2 separate regions of the Homo sapiens genome follow, and region 2 is linked to region 1. The links are contacts of gene promoters, found by promoter capture Hi-C in blood cells and fetal thymus (Javierre and others, 2016). All regions are on one chromosome and are shown on one strand. The core of a region is centred on a gene start or on the middle of the fragment in contact, and the rest is flanking DNA. Distances in the headings are between cores, read along the strand shown.

Region 1 (3,804 bases), core at 813-3,312:
TATGAGCTTTTGAACTATTTGAATCCCACCCAAGAAGGGTAATTGGAGAATTTGAAACAAAGATCACATTATTCAGTGATATTTCTTGACTAAGCATGACTTATTATGTGTTAATGCTACTAAAGTGTAGCTAGAACTGAAGTAGAGATTCCTAATAGTTCATTATAGAAGCACATGTAGAAAGAATCCTCTTTGTATAGAAAATATTAATGGTGATGGCAAAATGGCACCTAATAACTAAACCCTTCTTATTTCTTCAATCAGGGGAGAGACATGAAGACAGAGGAGAAATGAATGCATAAAATAACTGATAATATGAATCTATACATAGAACTTAGGAAGTCTCATCTGCCTGAAAATGACTGTGTGGATCCCACCCAAATCCAACTCATCCTGGTTTGCTGCACACTGGTTCATCAAAAGAAGGTTACCGAGGGGAAGGAACTAAAGGTGTTTGCACTTCATGTTACTTTTTGAGTTTATAAACATAAAAACAGAATTTACTTCTGTTACAGACCTAGTTACTGGGAATTCATTACTTGCCATGGACTACCTTTGCTAAGAAAAGTCTGAATGAGAAGATGGCAGGACGTCTGAAAAAAAAAGTTATAATTAATAAAATCTGCGGAGAATTGTAAATTCTGCCTTCATTGTTGATCCAAACCTTTCTTCTAAGACCTCCCCTTTCTAGACATCTATCTACCTATTTTCACTTTACTTTCCAGCATCAAGGAGGTCTGAGTGGATAAGGCCTAAGCACTGATGTGGCTTTGGTAATGAACCTGAAGTTAAAAACTGGTTAGCTTATGCTAAGCTGCCATTTGAAAGGTCTCCTCCAGCATCTGAATTAAGGGAAACAATGTTTTGAAGCAGTCACAAAACTTTTCTGATGCATTAGATCTGAGGTAGGACCTGATAATTTGTACTTCTAAATTATGCAGGTGATGCTGATGCTGCTGGTCCGGAGACCACTTTGGAGAGTTTTACTTTAAAGGAAATGAAACTGCCCTAAAATGCTAATACTAAATAGCCACACAAAGCCGGAAAAAAGCAAAGAATTTCAAACCGAAGATGAGAGGTCCTGAAAAATAACAGCGGTCATCCTACTCCCGGTGCGGCTATGCGGCCATGAAAAGGAGTCTTGGGGCCGGTCGTGCCCCTCCACGCAGGCTCCCTCATAGGGTCATCCCATCAACCCTCGCCAAAAACGCCGGCCCCCTCATAGGGCCGTCCGGCCACGCCCCTCCGTGCCCTAACCACAGAGCCACACGTTACGCCGCCGCCCCGTTACGCCCATCCGGCTCCCGCATAGGGCGTCACGTACGTTTAACGTCGGCCCGGCGCGCGCGTCCGGGAGGTTGCCCGTAGGCCGCTAACTGGTGGTTCCCAGTCCCCGCCGACTCGGCCTCTTTCTTCTGCGGCCACCAGATCGCGGGATATCGGAGACTTCGAACAATCCGCTGGAGTCCTTTACAGTTTAAAAACAGAGGACCGGCCGGGCGCGGTGGCTCACGCCTGTAATCCCAGCACTTTGGGAGGCCGAGGCGGGCGGATCACGAGTTCAGGAGATAGAGACCATCCTGGCTAACACCGTGAGACCCCGTCCCTATCAAAAGTACAAAAAAATTAGCCGGGTGTGGTGGCACGCGCCTGTAGTCCCAGCTACTCAGGAGGCTGAGGCAGAAGAATCGCTAGAACCAGGGAGGCGGAGGTTGCAGTGACCGAGATCGCGCCGCTGCACTCCAGCCTAGGCGACAGAGCGAGACTGCGTCTCAAAACAAAAAAAACGGAGGATCGAAAATTTTGAAGACTGAGAGCAAGGCAACAATCTTCCCTTGACCTTTTTGCTCCTCTCACAAGGGTTTTTCAGACGGCTGAAACCAACGAAAAGAGTGAGGAAGCAGGCAGAAAATTTCAGCTTTAGTCTCTCAGCATCCTCCTGCTTTCTTCTCGGGGAGCTGGCACTTCCCCCTTCTCTAGTAGCTGTAAATACGCCTCCCAACTCCAAGGAGACCTTTCTTGCATCTCCCTTACTGTTCTCACGCCTGTAGGGCTCTTCGTGTGAGGATTCAGTGTATGTATGTATGTATATGAATGTGTGCGAATAATTATTTCCTAATTGAGTTTTTTTTTAAAAAAATCATCTTCCGGTACACGCAGTGCCGTACTCCATTAAACAGCAGGCACGGTGTCTAGGGTCCGCAGTTCTTTTGGAGGCTCATGAAAATATTTTAATTTCTTCTAAAGTCAGAAGGAAAAAAATGAACATTTAAGTCGAAGAAGATGTTACATATTAATCTTCATATGACTTTAATTTTTTTTTTTTTTTTTTTGAAACGGAGTCTCGCTCTGTCCCCCAGGCTGGAGTACAGTGGCGCAGTCTCGGCTCACTGCAAGCTCTGCCTCCCGGGTTCACGCCATTCTCCTGCCTCAGCTTCCCGAGTAGCTGGGACTACAGTCACCACGCCCGACTAAGTTTTTTTGTATTTTTTAGTAGAGACGGGGTTTCACCGTGTTAGCCAGGATGGTCTCGATCTCCTGACCTCGTGATCCGCCCGCCTCGGCCTCCCAAAGTGCTGGGATTACAGGCGTGAGCCACAACGCCTGGCCTATGCCCACTAATTCCAATTCTTATTTGATCTAATTGTTTATAGATTCTTGTGAACTTTTACCTTGACAATTATGTTATTTTCAAAGATAATCATCTTTTCCTATTGAATCCTTGCTCTTCTGACTGCCTGTTCCTATCTCATGGTATTGGCCAAACCCTGTGATGCCGTGTTGAATAGGAGTACTTTCTCACCACACTTGTCTTCCTTCCGCCTCTATGGGAATCCTTCCAAAACGGCACCATTAAGTGTTATACTCGCTGTAGCTCCTCCTTATGAAGTTCTCTTCTCATTGTAGTCTGTTAAGTGTTTATGATTAAAGAGTGTTATATTTTGTTAAATGCTTTCGCAGTATCTTTGGAGATGATCATGTTTTTTCTTTATTAATCTCTTTTTTATTTTATTTATTTTATTTTATTTTATTTTATTTTTTATTATTTTAGTTTTTATTTTGAGATGGAATCTCACTCTGTCTCCCAGGCTGGAGTGCAGTGCCCTGATCTAAGCTCATTACAACCTCTACCTCCCAGGTTCAAGCGATTCTTCTGCCTCACTTTCCCAAGTAACAGGGACTACAGGTGCGTGCCACCACATCTGGCTAAGTTTTGTATTATCAGAAGAAGATAGGCCGCCATTGGCCAGGCTGGCCTTGAACTCCTGACATTAAGTGATCCACCTGCCTCAGCCTCCTAAAGTGCTAGGAATACAGGCGTGAGCCACTGCTCTGGGCCTTCCTTTATTAATTTCTTAAACTGGCAGATTTAGAATACTAAACTTCCTTCTATTCTTAGAATAAACCCTATATAATCAGCTATTTATTTAAATAACATGGTCTCTGCAATTTCTCCTGGTTTCCATTTTTTCTCATAATAGGCATTTTTTTCTAAAAAACAAAAATGAATGTTCATTAGTGAGACAAAACTATAATTTTGTTTTTTTCTTCTTTCTCTCTTCCTTCCTTTTTAAAATTTGTATTCTCCAGTTTTGCTAATAATGTTATACAATTTTACAAGAAAAAAGTGAGTAGGAGAGCTGTTTTTCTATAGTAACAGATTCTGTGAAATAGGTATCATGCCAAGTGAGGTGGCACGTCCCTGTAGTCCCAGCTACTCAGGAGGTGAAGCAGAAGGACCACTTGAGCCCAGGAATTGGAGACTGTAGTGTGCTGCCATCATGCCTGTGTATAGCTTCTGCG
Region 2 (3,476 bases), core at 274-2,773, 1.0 Mb after region 1:
CACTATGTCCTTGGCGCTGTTTTTGAGCCATTATTTACCTCATTATTTATCAATATTGTTAATGTCATTTTCATAGCAACCCATGTTTTAAAATAAGAGAAGGGTAAAAATATGTTGGGAGGATGAAGAGTGAAGGAAGAAATGTAAATGAGACACGTGCCAGGCACACGGGGACCCAGTGACCAGACTCCAAGAAAGCGCAGGACAGGGCTGGGCGCGGTGGCTCACGCCTGTAATCCCAGCACTTTGGGAGGCCGAGGCGGGCGGATCACGAGGTCAGGAGATCGAGACCATCCCGGCTAAAACGGTGAAACCCCGTCTCTACTAAAAATACAAAAAATTAGCCGGGCGTAGTGGCGGGCGCCTGTAGTCCCAGCTACTTGGGAGGCTGAGGCAGGAGAATGGCGTGAACCCGGGAGGCGGAGCTTGCAGTGAGCCGAGATTGCGCCACTGCACTCCAGCCTGGGCGACAGAGCGAGACTCCGTCTCAAAAAAAAAAAAAAAAAAGAAAAAGAAAAAAAGAAAAAAAAAAAGAAAGCGCAGGACAGAAAGAGCGAGGTGCTAAGACTTAGAGTGGACCCAGAGGCTCTGGCCCTCCTGTCTCCCACCACGCACTCCATTTTTGTCACATTTCAAACCTATCGCTTTTACGATATATGTTCAAAAATTGTTTAATGAACTGTAAATGGCTTGGTAAGGGCCGCATCGTAAATGGCTTGGTATGGGCCACATCGAGAACAGCTGTCAAATATAAGCCTAAGGCTAACCACGGATCTATTTTAACACTGAGCAGTTGTGGCTGAGTGTCTGGAGCTTGGCAGAAAGCAACGTCACAAGTCTGGCTTTTTCCCACGTAGACTGAACCCTCGCCCTCAAAGCTACAAACACAACAATTTAACCAACTGAGTGATCAACTAGGAGAAGAATCAATATGATCTCTTTCAAAAGCTTAAAATATGTCAAAATAGTATTATCTCAGAAAGTTTTTTTTTCCCAAAATAATACAAGACATTATCGAATTCTTATTTAACCCTTTTCTAAAATCACCCACCCACCTCATTGAATTTCCTTTAAAAAATCTTCATCCTGGCCGGGCGCGATGGCTCATGCCTGTAATCTCAGCACTTTGGGAGGCCAAGGCAGGCGGATCACCTGAGGTCAGGAGTTCAAGACTAGCCTGGCCAACATGGTGAAACTCCGTCTCTACTGAAAATACAAAAATTACCCAGGCATCGTGGCACACGCCTGTAATCCCAGCTACTTGGGAGGCTGAGGCAGAAGAATTGCTTAAACCTGGGAGGCGGAGGTTGCAGCGAGCCAAGATCGCGCCGCTGCACTCCAGCCTGGGCGTCAGAGCAAGACTCTGTCTCAAAAACAAACAAAACAAACAAATAAGAAAAACCTTTTCATCCTAACTCGTATATTATTTCTTCAAAAGAATAAAAAACGTGCAAATCTAATGCTTGTCTAGCTATTGCGACCACATTTACAAATGGATAGGCAGCGCTCCGGAGTTGGATGTAAGACGGTAGTATACAATCCAGGTGTGGTCGATTTAAGAAAAAAAAAAAAGAAAAAAGAAAAAAATTCCTGTCTAGCTAGTGCAACTACATTTATAAATGGATAGGCGAGGCTACGGAGTTCGATGTAAAACCGAAGTTTACAAGCGAGGTGTGGTCGGTGTAAAATAAAAACGAAAAAGAAGAAAAAAAAAAAAAACAAACCCACGGAAGTGGCCCGTACGGGGATCGAACCCGCGACCTTGGCGTTATTAGCACCACGCTCTAACCAACTGAGCTAACCGGCCTCCTTGGTGGGAGGGTCTTTTCTTATGTTTATTTAAATCATACCTGATCCATGCCCGCTGAATTTTTTTTTTTTTGTAATAGAAGCGTTACTTTCCCTTTTATTAATAAAATATATTTTTTTTTAAGAAAAGGAGAATTCCTCACTGTAGGCACAGGAAAACCATGCTGTTTCAGGGAAAACAATCTCAAACCACTGATTCTGACTGGAGAAAACTCAGATTCAACGACCCCAAGCAGGGCTTCCTTCCCCTCACCAGGTGAAGGACTCAGAACAAACCAAAAAGCAGCTCCAAGCTTGCGATCGCGGCCAGTTCCTCACGGAACCAACCGCAGAGCCGCCGCAGGTTCGCAGGATCGGAGGGTTCGGAGGACTCGGAGGGTGCGGATTCCTCTCTGCTCCTTGAGACCATTCCAGCCAGGTGGGCTCTTAGGCCTGGGAACCTGGGAAAGTGCACTGTCTCGCCTCCTGGCCTCGCGGTGGTTCCGCAGTCACCAGGACCCGAAATTCACAGCTGTGCGTCCTAAGCTTGCAGCTCCACAAACGATAAAATCAGACTTGGCCCTGCAGTGCCGGGCACCGGGCCCTTGGTGATGCTCGAGTGCCGGGCTGGCATCGGCGTAAATGAAAGGACCAGCGGGACGGCTCCTTTCAAGAGTCTCTGACTCCTTCCGTCCCGGGAAGACCAAGACACCCACATCTAAGACAAGGGAAGTCACCATTATCTACACCAATGATAAACGCCGGTATCTGGGAGGAACTGAGCCCAGGACCGGGTCAGGCAACTCAGAGTGTTGGGACAACTAAGTCCCTCTTCAAAGACTCAACTTTCTTGTCATAAGTTGCAAAAGTTGTACGTCAATCCTGCCTGCCCCCCGCCCCCCACCACACACATACACTCCTTTTTTTCGCAAATCCAGGGTTTACCCTATTTGCCAAAGTTTAAGTCTTAGCCAATCGGGATCAGCTTAGATTGTGCGGTCCAACCCCAGCCAATAGGGGAAGGACACAGAAACAGGAACTGCGTTAGGATTAAAAACTCCTTACCTCCTTTGTTTGGTGTGCTCTTGCAATTGTAACAGGCAAGGAGCACCCTTCTGCAGAAGTAAAGATGCCTTGCTGAGGAATTTTCTAAGTGAGGGTTTCTTTTGGCTACACCAAGCACTTGTTTCCAGTAAATCTTAGGGACTCGTCCGGGATCCCATTCTCCTTCGGGAGGGGCTAGCGATTATCTTTCATGGGGAGACGCGTCCCATTGCCTCGTGGTGGCCCCAGGAGCGGAGGATCGAGTCCCGCCCGAAGTGACGAATAAATCCGGACTCTCAGCAACGCGGACAGTAGGGAGGATCCTTAAGAATTCTGTGAGACCAGCTTGGTCAATACGGTGAAACTCCGTTTCTACTAAAAATACAAAAATTAACCGGGCGTGGTGGTGCGCGCCCTTAGTCCCAGCTACTTGGGAGGCTGAGGCAGGAAAATCACTTGAACCCGGGAGGCAGAAGTTGCAGTAAGCCGAGATCATGCCACTGCACTCCAGCCTAGGCAACAGAGCGAGACTCCGTCTCAAAAAAAAAAAAAAAAAGAATTCCATGGCGACCACAGGTAACTCTGTGCACAGACCAAGGTAAGAAACGTTGCTATTGGGGCGGCAAAGCCTTCCTTGGTGGTTG

Evidence for each region. The method cuts DNA at HindIII sites, captures the fragments that hold promoters and counts their contacts. A CHiCAGO score of 5 or more calls a contact.
Region 2: a contact is called between a fragment that was not itself captured here and the fragment with the promoter of H2BC6-AS1 in region 1, in 2 of 17 cell types (erythroblasts and naive B cells). The highest score is 6.6, in erythroblasts.

The regions. Positions count from the first base shown.
Region 1 is chr6:26,170,711-26,174,514 of GRCh38, forward strand. It overlaps H2BC6-AS1 (H2BC6 antisense RNA 1), which reads right to left and starts at 2,063. Exons shown (of 3, transcript NR_186648.1): 1 at 1,325-2,063. It also overlaps a transcript of H2BC5 not described here. RefSeq lists an enhancer at 1,137-2,029. The HindIII fragment of the contact is 22,011 bases long and covers 1-3,804 here.
Region 2 is chr6:27,175,482-27,178,957 of GRCh38, forward strand. It overlaps TRI-AAT5-2 (tRNA-Ile (anticodon AAT) 5-2), which reads right to left and starts at 1,807; the gene lies at 1,734-1,807. RefSeq lists a cis regulatory region at 1,646-2,723, a silencer at 1,713-1,862 and enhancers at 2,065-2,264, 2,455-2,554, 2,905-2,964. The HindIII fragment of the contact is 1,154 bases long and covers 947-2,100 here.